5 separate regions of the Homo sapiens genome follow, and all the other regions are linked to region 1. Evidence: promoter capture Hi-C in 16 types of primary human blood cells and fetal thymus (Javierre and others, 2016). All regions are on one chromosome and are shown on one strand. The core of a region is centred on a gene start or on the middle of the fragment in contact, and the rest is flanking DNA. Distances in the headings are between cores, read along the strand shown. Region 1 holds the start of ZNF521 (zinc finger protein 521). Region 2 holds the start of OSBPL1A (oxysterol binding protein like 1A). Region 3 has its middle 5.6 kb from the start of IMPACT. Region 4 holds the start of TAF4B (TATA-box binding protein associated factor 4b). Region 5 has its middle 3.3 kb from the start of SS18.

The links. The method cuts DNA at HindIII sites, captures the fragments that hold promoters and counts their contacts. A CHiCAGO score of 5 or more calls a contact.
Region 2: the fragment with the promoter of OSBPL1A here is called in contact with the fragment with the promoter of ZNF521 in region 1 in 1 of 17 cell types (monocytes); the score reaches 10.5 in monocytes.
Region 3: a fragment that was not itself captured here is called in contact with the fragment with the promoter of ZNF521 in region 1 in 1 of 17 cell types (monocytes); the score reaches 7.3 in monocytes.
Region 4: the fragment with the promoter of TAF4B here is called in contact with the fragment with the promoter of ZNF521 in region 1 in 1 of 17 cell types (total B cells); the score reaches 5.4 in total B cells.
Region 5: a fragment that was not itself captured here is called in contact with the fragment with the promoter of ZNF521 in region 1 in 1 of 17 cell types (fetal thymus); the score reaches 5.1 in fetal thymus.

Annotation. Positions count from the first base shown.
Region 1 is chr18:25,350,906-25,353,425 of GRCh38, forward strand. It overlaps ZNF521 (zinc finger protein 521), which reads right to left and starts at 1,261. Exons shown (of 8, transcript NM_015461.3): 1 at 1,100-1,261; 2 at 2-42. The coding sequence starts at 41. RefSeq lists a silencer at 1,287-1,356. The HindIII fragment of the contact is 3,815 bases long and covers 1-2,020 here.
Region 2 is chr18:24,396,574-24,399,093 of GRCh38, forward strand. It overlaps OSBPL1A (oxysterol binding protein like 1A), which reads right to left and starts at 1,251. Exons shown (of 28, transcript NM_080597.4): 1 at 1,082-1,251. All of the region lies in intron 2 of LOC124904268 (a long non-coding RNA gene), which reads left to right. RefSeq lists a silencer at 1,185-1,314. The HindIII fragment of the contact is 23,089 bases long and covers 1-2,520 here.
Region 3 is chr18:24,419,798-24,422,317 of GRCh38, forward strand. No RefSeq gene overlaps it. Among named protein-coding and RNA genes, the nearest start is that of IMPACT, 5.6 kb to the right of the region's middle. The HindIII fragment of the contact is 1,777 bases long and covers 375-2,151 here.
Region 4 is chr18:26,225,182-26,227,701 of GRCh38, forward strand. TAF4B (TATA-box binding protein associated factor 4b) reads left to right here and starts at 1,264. Exons shown (of 15, transcript NM_005640.3): 1 at 1,264-2,095. The coding sequence starts at 1,753. RefSeq lists enhancers at 894-963, 994-1,093 and a silencer at 1,744-1,903. The HindIII fragment of the contact is 8,704 bases long and covers 1-2,520 here.
Region 5 is chr18:26,092,679-26,095,198 of GRCh38, forward strand. No RefSeq gene overlaps it. Among named protein-coding and RNA genes, the nearest start is that of SS18, 3.3 kb to the left of the region's middle. The HindIII fragment of the contact is 1,644 bases long and covers 440-2,083 here.

The DNA.
Region 1 (2,520 bases), core at 11-2,510:
CCTTTGAGGGATCTCGGTTTCGCTTGCTTGCGGCGAGACATCCTAAAAGCAAACAGCTGAAGTTGTTTCAATTCAGCCCTGAAAGAAACTATACTTCCTCGTGGCCGCGCGCCCCTCGGGCCGCGGCGCCTCGCGCCCTCCGCTCGGCCTCCCTCGCGCCCTCGCTCCGCGCTCCGCTCCTCGCTCCGGCTCCGGCTCGCGCTCGCGCGCGGGGCTCGCGGCTGCCCGAGCTCCGCGCTCTGCACGACGGCGGCGGCGGCGGCGGCGGCTGCTGCACCAAACTTTCCCAGCCTTCGACCCCCACCCCCAATCTCCAAGAAAAAAAAAAAAAAAGGAAAAAGAAAAAAGGAAAGGAGGGAAAAAAAGCTAAAAAAAAAACCCCAAAGACAATGTTTGAAGAGCCGTCAGCTACACTAAAAAGAGAAAATCCGTTACTATTTCCACCTCAATCAAAATTCACATAGTTCATGCGAATAGAAAAAAACTAATAAAAAGAAAAGCGTCTGGGTGATTTTTTTTTTCTTTACCGCTTTTCCTTTTCAACAAATCCGCCCCCCCCCCCACCGGAAAAAAACAAATAACACTGATTTGTTTACAAAGCGAGTCGTGCTCTTTTGTAGTTGGGGGGACGAGGGGGGGAAATCGACCCTGCAAGGCGATGAAAAGGTCTTGGAAAGAAAAATCTCCCACCATCCGAGGCAGATGCGAACGGGCCACGAAAATAAGCAAAGGGAAAAAAATACTTTTTTTCTCCCTTCCCCCCACCCTTTTTTTCTTAACCCACACTAAAGTAATTTCTTTCAAAAAGAAAAAGCCAAAGCACCCGAGCCGACGGCCCCCAGGTGGTGTGCGGGGCTGCTTGTGTGCAGGGGGTGTGCGGGGCCCGGGCTCGGGGCGCCCCTCTCTGGGCGGGGGCGCGGCGCCGGCGGCTGGCGCTGGACCGGGGCTCTAAAGTCTACGGCTGCCTCGGCAGCGGCGGCGGCAGCAGCGGCGGCAGCGGCGGCGGCAGCGGCGGCGAGAGCAGGAGGAGGAGGAGGAGGAGAGCCGGGAGCAGGAGGAGGAGAAGGAGTGTGCTGTGTGCTCCCTCCTCATCACAAACCTGCAAGGTCTTGGACTGCGCTGTCGCTCCGGTAGTCCACATAATAATGGAAAATGGAAGCAAGGCCCCCAAAGCCATCAGGATGGCTCCAGAGGGGGCCCCTAACCCGCAGGGACTCGCTCTGTACGTAATCACTGAGGAAATCATTGTCAGCCTGCCTGCACTCACACACAGACAGAGGGGCATGATTAAAAGGCGAGAGCGCGGGGAGCGGGAGGGAGGAGGGGGCCCGCCAAGACCCGGACTGGAGGCGCCGGCCGCGGCGCGCGGATCCGGAGCCAGGCGGCGGCCGAGCGCCCCGAGCCCCGCCCGCCGCCGCCGCCGCCGCCGCCGCCTCCCACGCGCCGCGCGCCCCGCCCGCTCCTGCGCCGCCGCCCCTCGCGCCGCCCGCCCGGCCGCTCGCACACCCCGCGCCGCCGCCGTCGCCGCCGCCGCAGCTGCGTTATTAGAGCTCCACGGCGGATCTCGGGGCTCTTCTGCTCGCTTTTTTTCCTCTTCAGAAATTAAAGCAGAGGAGCATCTGAAAGTGGAAAGGTCCCCCTTCTGGTAGGATGGATGTAAAAGGAGGCAACAATTTGTTCTTGAGGGGGCAAAAAAAAAAAAAAAAAAAAAGAAAAAGAAAAAGAAAAAGAAAGGAGGGGGGAAATTCATTGCTTGGCTTTTGCATTGTCGGACTTTAAAAAAGTGTGTCTGCTGTTGTTGCCCGGACTCGGGAAATCTTTTTTATGGCAACCGCAGACCTGCCAAGTCTCTCTTACTTGGAATCTTTATAAAGGCAAGTTATTTGGACTTTTTTTTTATTTTCTCGTTTAGAGAAAGTCATTGATGCTGACGAATGTCATAATGTGATTCAAAAGAGACAGCTTTGAGTTCACTTTTTTAACATTCTCAAATTGACATAGATCTTTGTCCAGAAAATAAAGCTTTCTGTTGATTTTTTCTTTAAGCAAGAGGTAAGGAAATATGCACTTAAGAATATGTGTACAAGAAAATAGTTTCTAAAATAAATTGAAATGTCTGCAGGTCGGTGGGAATTTTTGTTTCTTTTCGCAGTTTTGTTTTCTAACTTTTCACCTGCTCCCATCGCAAAACAAGAAACCATCACCTGTTTCCTTCTTTTACCTTATCTTAAGGGAAAGGATGTTTTAGTATTATTATTGTTGTTGCTATTTATTGATTGGACACGCTTGTCAAGTTATAAATGCCTGAGAGGGCTACCAAGTAGAGCTTAGATTCACAAGTCTTGGTGGAAATTAAGAGATTCAGAATACGGTTAATTACACAAAACAGGCAGAATTTTGTACAAATACTATTGTTCTTAATCAGATTTTAAAAATTCTCCGTTCTGTAAAATTAAGGTACAGCTATCTATTAAGCCACCATGCAAAGACATCAAAGCTTTAAGGAAGTTGTATTTTTTC
Region 2 (2,520 bases), core at 1-2,500, 950 kb before region 1:
CCCCCTATAAACTGTAGACAAAGCCCACCTAGTGGTTTAGAATTAGGGAATTAAAAGGTGGATTTTGTTACTATGCTGTAATTAAGAAATCTTCACAATTCCAGCTTGGGGTGGGGAGGGAGGGGGGTGGTTCAGAATTTATACCTATCAAACTGCTGCAAAAAATTCATTGTATCGGGGTTAGACTGCAAATACTTCTACCCCTCAAAACGAATCTGCAAATTATTTCCCAGATGCTGAGTAAAGAGGTGAGGAGGTTCCAAACTCCAAATCCAGAATGCACCTATTACAGGGCAAAGACTGAAGTTTTCAGGGAAAACACATCACCGATTTTAAAGCTGATTTAATTATATTATTAACTATTCACAGACACCTAATAGCCACATTTGCAACATTCAAGCAACCTTATTTAAGCTAAGAATATCACACTGCCCACAGTTCCATTTCACAATACCGTCTGCCTAAAAACGACAACTTGAACTGAAAACTAATACTAAATCAGAATAACCCTTTTCAATGCCTCCTGCCAATCATTAGGGCAGCGGGATAAGTGAATTGTTAAAGTCTATTGTGCAGCTGCGCTCTCATTCAGTTTCAGAATCTCCCTTGGATATTCGTTCATGCTTGTAGAACCGACCACGCGGTACATTGGGAAACGGTCACATGAACAATGCGTGACTTCCATTGTGCATCAATCCTCCTCTTGTTAGGAGGAAATTAAAAAGTCACATGGACACACGAAAGTACCGAGAAGGCACGCAGCTGAAGATCTGGTAGGGGATGCATGCGGCACCAGCATGGTCGTGGCACCCGAGTGGGAAGTGCAACAAACGCCAACATCTTGTTACTTTTAACGCCTAACTTCCTGCAGCGCTGGAGCAGCCAGCGGCCGCCGGGAAGCCGAGCTCGGCTGCAGCCCTGCGTCGCCGCGCCACGACCCGACCATCCTCTGAGACGCCCGGGACGGGAGCGCCCACCCCCAACCAGGCGCGGACAGACCTCCCGAGCGCAGCCCGGCGGGAACCCGTCAGCGCGGGAACCGGCCTCGAACTCCAGGCGTGGACAGCCGCGAGAAACTGACCTACGCGGTCACCCGGGCTCCCAGAGCTCCCGAGGCGGTGGCCACGACCCCAGGCTTCCCGTCCGCCCGCCCCACGTCGAGGAAGTGGTCGTCACCAACTCTGGCTGGCACTCCCCGAGGACGCTCGAGCCCGCGTAACGTCTGTCTCCGGGACCCGGCGCCGGGACCACGGCGGAGCGCGAGGTGGCGCCGCCCCTCCCCGCAGCCCGCCCCTGGAACGCGCATCCTCCTGGCGAGCTGGCATCCCTCCCGACACGTGACCGCAGCGGGGACACGCCCGTTCCCCGCCCACTCCCCGCCCCTGCCTGGCCTGCCCACGCCCCCGGCCCGCTCCTGTCCCGCCTGGGCCACCGGCGCTGGTTCCAGGTTTTGCCAGCTACTAGGGACGCGTAAAGCCTTCGCGCTCCTCCCACCACACCCCGAGGGAAGAAGTGGCAGGCCTTACCCGGAGACTACAAGGAACCGCCCGTGTGAGCCAGTGGAAGACTCGCGTCCCCAGGCAAAATATAAGTCCTGGGTTAATAGTCTGAAGTCTGTCATTAAGCAATAGGTTATCCAGCTGCCCAGATTTTTTTCTTTTTTGCTTTGGCTGCAACTCGACCCGTGGGAACTTAATTGGCAATGTAAATTAGACAATTTACAAAAAAACACCTCCTTTTACTTTCACCTGTGAAAGGAAGCGCTTAAAATGCCATACAGGTGTAACCATTATAGAATAGATATGCGTGAGACAAGGATTTACAAAATTTCCTCACCTCCTCTCCTCCAGATTCCATGCACAAGGCGTCTAGCTAGAGGAGTTAGCAAATAGTCTATAACGTGAAGGTTCAAACTCTAGTATAATTCCACCGTTTTTGTTTTTTTCTTTTTTTGAGGCAAGGTCTCACTCTGTCTCCCAAGCTGGAGTGTAGTGGCGCGATCTCGGCTCACTGCAGCATCGTCTTCTGGGTTCAAGCGATCCTCCGGCCTCAGCTGGACTACAGGCGGGTAATCAAGGGACTGGGACTACAGGCGCGCCCTGCCGCGCCCGGACAAGTTTTGTATTTTTAGTAGAGACAGACTCTCCCTATGTTGCCCAGGCTGGTCTCCAACTCCTGGGCCTCCCAAAGTGTTGGGATTACAGGCGTGAGTCACCCCTGCAGGCCACAGCTTTGCTTTTTAAAAGCATTTCTGCATAACTAAAAAGACAGGAAATTACGAGCATACGAAAACTGATTTCTGCTTTCCTGAATTTTCTAAATGTATTTAATGAACATGTTCTTTTGCAATGAAAAAGTAATAAATAGGTATCATTTTTAAAAGGACTGTAGTTTTTCCATCAAGTCTAGAAGCATGTATTGAGAACCTATAATAGGCCCTTTTGGTCATTGTGATATGTGTGAAACAGCATATGGCAGATCTTTTGAAATGATGTTTTTGGATACCACAAGCAATCCTGC
Region 3 (2,520 bases), core at 13-2,512, 930 kb before region 1:
TGAAACACTATCTCTATTAAACATACAAAAATTAGCCAGGCGTGGTGGTGAGCACCTGTAATCCCAGCTACTTGAGAGGCTGAGGCCCAAGAATCACTTGAGCTCAGGAGGCAGAGGTTGCAGTGAGCCAAGATCAGGTCACTGCACTCCAGCCTGTGTGAGAGTGAGACTGACACACACACACACAAACACACACACACGACGGCCATTTGAAGATTTAAGGGAAGAACATTCCACTCAGAGGCAAAAGGGAAAAGCAAATAACTTGTATTTCTTAACCAACAATTTTGACTTCACACACATCTCCTCTGAATATTGATTTTGAGGTTATGGGGAAGCTAATCATACGGCCATTTTCTACTTTTAGTCAAAAAAGCTTCTGGAGGGAAAAAATTTGAGATGTCACGTAAAGAGGTAAGGAAGTCAAGTGTGGCAGTTAAGGGTGCATGGTGCTGAGGAAGGCTTATCTCTGGCTTTACCCACTCCCACTCCCACCCAAGAACCTGTTCTCCGTTGGCTATAACCCAATCCTTGCTAAAGTTTCAATGAATAATTAACAAAAGAACTTGTAACTATCCCTTCTAGAAGTTTATTCATTAAGAAGATGCTTCTTGAAAATGAAAAAATAAAAAGATCAGATTTAATTCTTTTTTTGAGACAGAGTCTCACTCTGTTGCCCAGGCTGGAGTACAATGGAGCAATCTTGGCTCACTGCAACCTCCTCCTCCTGGGCTCAATTGATCCTTCCGCCTCAGCCCCCCAAGTAGCTGGGACTAGAGGCATGAGCCACCACGCCCAGCTAATTTTTGTGTTTTTTGTAGAGATGAAGTTTCACCATGTTGCCCAGGCTGGTCTCAAACTCCTGAGCTCAAGTGATCCACCTGCATTGGCCTCCCAAAGTGCTAGGATTACAGGCGGATGAATTACTGTGGAACACTTGTTTGAACATGCTGTTACTGGGGAAACAAACCTGCCGTAGCGGTCAATGAAGTACTTGCAAAACTGCTTGGGGGATAGGAGTACCTGTTTCTGAAAAGGGGGTGCTGACTGGAGGTGGTGTAACAGGGTCCCTACCACACAGCACAGTTCCTCTCTAGGTGAACTCTAACATAACACCTGAGATGCCACTCTTCCATTCCCTTCAAATCTCCTGAAGTCAGGAAATGCCTCTGGCTCCATTATTTTATTTATTTATTTATTTGAGACAGAGTCTCGCTCTGTCACCCAGACAGGAGTGCAGTGGTGGGATCTCAGCTCACTGCAACCTCCGCCTCCCGGATTCTCCTGCCTCAGCCTCCAGAGTATTTGGGATTACAGACACACGCCACCATGCCTGGCTAATTTTTGTATTTTTAGTAGAGATGGGGTTTCACCATGTTGGCCAGGCTGGTCTTGAACTCCCGACCTCAAGTGATCCGCCCGCCTCGGCCTCCCAAAGTGCTGGGATTACAGGCATGAGCCACCATGCCAGGCCAGGCTCTATTATTTTTTTCTAACTATGTTTATACAATTATCAGCTAATCTTCCCAGGATACAGTGTTACTTATGGTGAAATTATAATATTAAAGGATTTTCTCTCTCCCCTAATTGCTTGCTTGACATTGACTCTGTTTCCTTGATTACTTCTTTGACAAGAACTTCTCCATAAAACTTATAGTTTAATATCCAGTATTTTAATCTTCAGCCATAGTGGGTCAAATTATTGAGTAAGCAAATGAACAGCACAAAGAGAAGGAAGAGCCTCAGCATTCATTGTCCTTGTAGTCAGCTATATTTTGGCTTTCATTGTCTGGGAGCTAAGGTAAACACACAGAGAACAGGAGGGAAAAGATCATTGTGTACTAAGATGGTTTGTGTTTTGTTTCTAAAATATTTTGAGGACATATTTCCCTAAGAAAAATATTTCAGAACCAGATAATATTGTAAGTTAATATTGTTAAAAGATAAACACATTAAAATTGTCACGAGTTTGAGAATGAAGCTATTCATGAATCACGCAGCACCAGAGCTCAAACAGTTCAACACTCCACTAAATTGGTGGGAGGGAGAAATTTTTCTAAGGTGTTTGCAGAAGCAAGATAAAGAAAATATTTGATGGCTTAAACTAGAAAGTCCCTAGTTAGATGTCACTTAGTGGTTTCTGATTGGTTAAGCTTAAGTTTACACTGAGTTCTATTTCTGTTTGCTTACTCAGAAACACAAGGCAATGGAACTGTCTTAGCCTCATGGCCTCCCAATTAATTATTTTAACAAAACCATATGGACAGAATTTGCCTGTGTTACAGTGTATCCTAGAGCAGTTTGTTCTAGTCTTCTTGGAGAGGAAGATACCAAAATGAAGTTAAATATGCAAGAAATGTGTTAGGGGAAATGCCTGTAGAAAATTGGGAAGGAACTTGAAGAGGCTCAGAGAACCATCACACCGATACTAATCTGATCCTGAGTGAATGTTGAGAAACAAGTAGAGGAAAGGGCCTTCGCTGTGGCTCACGCCTGTAATCCCAGTACTTTGGGAGGCTG
Region 4 (2,520 bases), core at 14-2,513, 870 kb after region 1:
GTTAACATATTCATCACTTTAACATGATTTGTCCTGAATGGAATCCCATTCATGAGGGCTCCACCCTTATGATCTAATCACCTTTCAAAGGCCCAACCTTCTAATATTATCAACTCCAGCTTTAGCATTTTAACACTCAGTTGGGGGTATAATCCTAGCACTTTGGGAGGCCCAGGCGGGAGCTCAGGAATTGGAGACCAGCCTGGACAATATAACGAGATCCCGTTTTTGCTAGGCATAGTGCCGCTCCCCTGTGGTTCCAGCTACTCGGGAATCTGAGGTAGGAGGGTAGGATGATCACTTGAGCCCAGGAGGTGGAGGCTGCAATGAGCCAATGGTGCCACTGCACTCCAGCCTGGGTGACAGAGTTAGATCCTGTTTCCAAAACAAAACAAAACAAAACAAAACAAAACAAAACACCACAACATTCAGATCATAGCATCTGCCTACTTGTAAAATCGCCTTTCAGTGCAGTGTTGGTTCCTACAAACATACAATATAATGACTTTAGCTTGAAATTAAGGCATCTTCTCTGACTGCATTACAAACAGGCAAGTTTTTTCATATCGATTCACTCAACACCTTTTATTTATCCAGATAATATCTAGGATCACGCTTAATATCTAAGTGCTAGAATCTAATTATATAGATATCAAAAGGCATTAAGTTTTTCAGAAGACAGACATACAATTTTAATGTTTAGAGGTGATAGAGACACCTATAGCAGCACCAAAGAAGAAACGATTTTCCATTTAAGATTTTAGGCAGTTTAACTCTAAAATATGAAAATAGGCACATCTCACAGACTATAAAACTATACGCCATTTTAATTTTTACAATGTCAATTCTAACTGCGAATTTTAGCAACGCTTCAGTGTGAAGACAGCAGAGAAAAACACTGAAAATGCGTGATTGAATTCTTATTGAGTCACTCTTCTCGGAAATCAGTCCTCCCCATTTTCTCCTTAAAAAATAGAATCCTGGAGATAGTCTAGTGCTGGCTTTTCGAGGAACACACTACAGGGGACACAAGGAGAGGAACACGGATGCCGCAGTTTTCCAAGTGCAGCTTGCCCCTCCCACGTGATAGGTTTCTGGCATCGCCCCTCCTTGCTGGCGATTCTGGGGAAGATTTTAACGCTCCCTGGAGCCGTCCCCAGTGACGTCACGGGCGCGGCTCCGCTCCTTGGCCAATCACGCGGCCGGATCCCGGGGAAACCCGGGGCGGTGGCGGCGGCCTGGGCGCGTGCGCGAGGTCTCCGCGTGGCTATATAAACATGGCTGGCGTGGCCGCGCGGCGGGGCCGTGCCAATCGCGCGTAGGGGGCTGTGGGCACTCGGGGTTCGTAGTTTTGAAATTTCTGGCGGGGGAGCAGCTGCGCAGTTAGGCTCGAGGTGTGAGCGACGACCTTCCGGGAGCCGCAAGTCCAGGCTCCCCCGCAGCGGGACCCGAGCCTGAGGCGCAGGGCTGAGGCAGCGCACGTGTGAGCGCCGCTGAGGAAGCTGCGAGAGGTCGGGCGGGTGTCGCTCCGGGGGCAGCCCAGGCTCGCGCGGACGAGAGGAAGGTCCGGGACGCGCGTGTCCTGCCGTGCAGCGGGCGCCCGTCACTGACTTCGCTGCTGCGGCCCCCGCGCCTCTCCCCAGCGATGCTGTGGAACCCGAACCGCACCGGAGTCGGCTGCCGCGCGCCAAGCCTCCCCTCACCTCTGCTCCCGGAACCGCAGCGCCAAAGCTGCCGCTGAGCCCCTGGGGGATGCCCGCCGGCCTCACCGAACCCGCCGGCGCCGCTCCCCCGGCTGCTGTGAGCGCCTCGGGGACCGTGACCATGGCCCCGGCCGGGGCGCTGCCGGTGCGGGTGGAGAGCACTCCGGTGGCCCTGGGCGCCGTGACTAAGGCTCCTGTCAGCGTCTGCGTGGAGCCCACGGCGTCCCAGCCCCTGCGGTCCCCCGTGGGGACCCTGGTGACCAAAGTGGCTCCGGTCAGCGCCCCTCCTAAAGTCAGCAGCGGCCCTAGGCTGCCTGCTCCTCAGATAGTCGCCGTGAAAGCCCCCAACACCACGACAATCCAGTTTCCTGCTAATTTGCAGCTTCCTCCAGGTATGTTGATAACCCTTTCCAGCCTTGTCTGTCGGTCCAGCTGGCGGCGACGGGAAAATTCGCAGCTCCAGATTGCTCCTAAAAAAACTGAGCCACGGGAACATTTCATAATCTTGACTTTACAGTTAACATATTCTTTTTGTGTCATTACTACATAGTTTTTCTTTTCATATTTAAGGAAAGAATCTTTTCACCTAAGTGATACAGTAAAAAGCTACATCAGCGTATTCGGGGGGGCTTTCAGGCACTGGCTCTTAGGTGGAGGAGATAATATAGCCGAAGTTAATTTCCATGTGGAGGATGGACCGGTTTATACCGTGGATTTCCATACGCTTAGATTATGTAGAAGTGCGTTGTACTTATTTTATTAATTATGAATGAATGAATGAACGAATGAGGTATGGTTTCGCTCTGTCGCCCAGTCT
Region 5 (2,520 bases), core at 12-2,511, 740 kb after region 1:
CTGTGCATTTGGCAGATAGCACTGAAACTTCAAAGGGCAACATGAACCAGTAGGAACACTTGTCTAATTTCCATATCCCAGCAAAAAAATAAGTAGTCCAAGGGGGCTTCTATTCCAGGGAGGCACCTGGAGCTAGTTACCTTCTTTATTTAAATTACAGCTCCCCAAAGGTGAGAAAGGGAAATCCACTGAAAACAGGTTACAGTTGGCCTGAGATGTTTATTTCTTCAGAGTAGCAGGGTAGGGCCCAGAGAACCCATAGCCTGCAGGCATGGATAGCCACAGTCTTTTCTGTGACACCATGTATGCCATAAAGATACCATTATTTTCTGTGTCTGATCACATGAAATCAGTTGAAAAGCATTGTTCTATAAGTCCAGCCAGAAATACAAATGATCTCCTTGAGAGAGGATACTTAAAAAGAACTACTTCACCCTCAAGCTTCCTTGCTAAAACCCAATCAATCCAATCAGTTAGCCTGACCTGGAAAAATAGAAAATTCGGAAAGAGGAAAGATTGAGACTGAAGCCTGGAAGATCTTTCTTAAAATTTTGGGGCCTTTGTAATGTAAGAGTCCTGAGCTAGGGGATACTTAGGGGAACATAATAAGTCCCATCTCACCTGACCACTAGTTTTAAGAGGAATCCCAAGGTAGACTGAGTGGCAGCAGAGTTGGTAGAAGGAGAATAAACAGTCCCTAGCATTTAGTTACGAAGAAAAGGAGAACAAATATGGGAAGTTGGCCTAAGACTGGGAAAGGACTCTAAGGACTTAAAGGTAAGATACTCAGGCAACCATCTCCCCAACCAAAAAAATCAGTCCCACTATTTAAACTGCTCTTGAATGAGAGACATCTAAAGAAGGAATCCAACTCACATAACCAAGAGGTAGAAGGAGTTTGGAATAATCCTAAATTGAAGAACATATAGAGTGGGTCAGAATAAGAAAAATAATCTGTGTGAACAGTTAATTCTTGATTACTCACACTAATGAATATGAAGTAGGCAGATTTAACAAAGATTAAAAAAAATTGTTCATGTTTGATTTTTTGTTTCAATTTTTATATAAATTTGTACTCCTTAAAATACACCCCGCCCCCCATACACACGCACACATATATATTTGAGGCAGGGTGTCACTCTGTCACCCAGGCTGGAGTGTGGCACAATTTCAGCTCATTGCAGCCTCGACTTCCCAGGCTGAAACGATCCTCTCACCTCAGCCTCCCGAGTAGCTGGGACTACAGGCATGCACCGCCATGCCTGGGTAATTTTTGTATTTTTTGATAGAGACAGGGTTTCACCATTTTTTTCAGGCTGTTCTTGAACTGCTTTACTCCTGGTCTCGATCCACCCACCTTGGCCTCCCAAAGTGCTAGGAGAACAGACATGAGCTACCACACCTGACCGTGTATTCCTTAAATATATTTTTATGAATTGACAAAGTGAAGTGCTCCTGTAATATGTTCAATATTTGGTGAAACTATATAATCATGGCATTAAAAATTATCTTAATCCACAAAAAATATGTACGAATAGGTAACTAAAATAATCTTGCTTTCATACAAGCATTTCTTTAATATGTATTGTTTTAGAATTAATAGAGTATCTGCACTACCAAATGTGCTGATATTTTAAGCCCCTGAGCTGTCATAAATTCTTAGAATACATTGAGAAGGCATAGACCAAGCCTGTCTGCTCATAACTGGGCTCAGAGCAAAACCCTTCAGGTAATATCTTTCAAAATATTTCTGTTCACAGTCCCTGTGGCATTTGATGAGTCAATTTGAGTTGTGGCTCCCACAGATTTCAAGACTGTAAAGAAAGAAGCATACATCTATATATTTATATAATCATTATTCAGGCAAGAACAAATCACCTTTCCCAATTCTCCGTAAAGGACTTTTATTTTTGATACTATGGAAGATTTCATTCAAAGTAGACTATAACAAAGCCTATTGGAGGCATTTTCATCTCCTCTTATAGTGCCAAATATAGAATTAATTATGAACTGAATCAATTATATTTTTGGGTTTAATGATATAGAAAAGTATTGCTTTTTAAAAAAATTAGTTCCTATGGAAAGCTTTCACTCTTTGTGAAAGATGCATAGGTTTGGAGTTCCCAATTCTTCTACCCATGGCATAATACTGGACAGGTCATTTCTGTATCTCACTGGACTTCCTGAAAAACAGCTGCCATATCTAAAAAGCTATTACAAATAATGTTTTTTTATTTAGCATTTATTATGCACTAGCCTCTGTGCCTTACATTAGATCCCTTAATTAAACGATTACCTTCCATTAGATCCTTTAAGACTGTCTCAATTTTAACATATAAAGTGTGTAAAAATTAATGGGATATTGTAAATTACTAAACAAGGACAAGATTTGCAATGTAATAATATAATTAGGAAAAATGGACATTTTAGGACTATAATCCAAAGTACTTGATAGGGCAGTCTACCCTTGGGAAATCTGCTGACCTTAAATATCAAATGTTCTTTTTTCACATTTAGCAT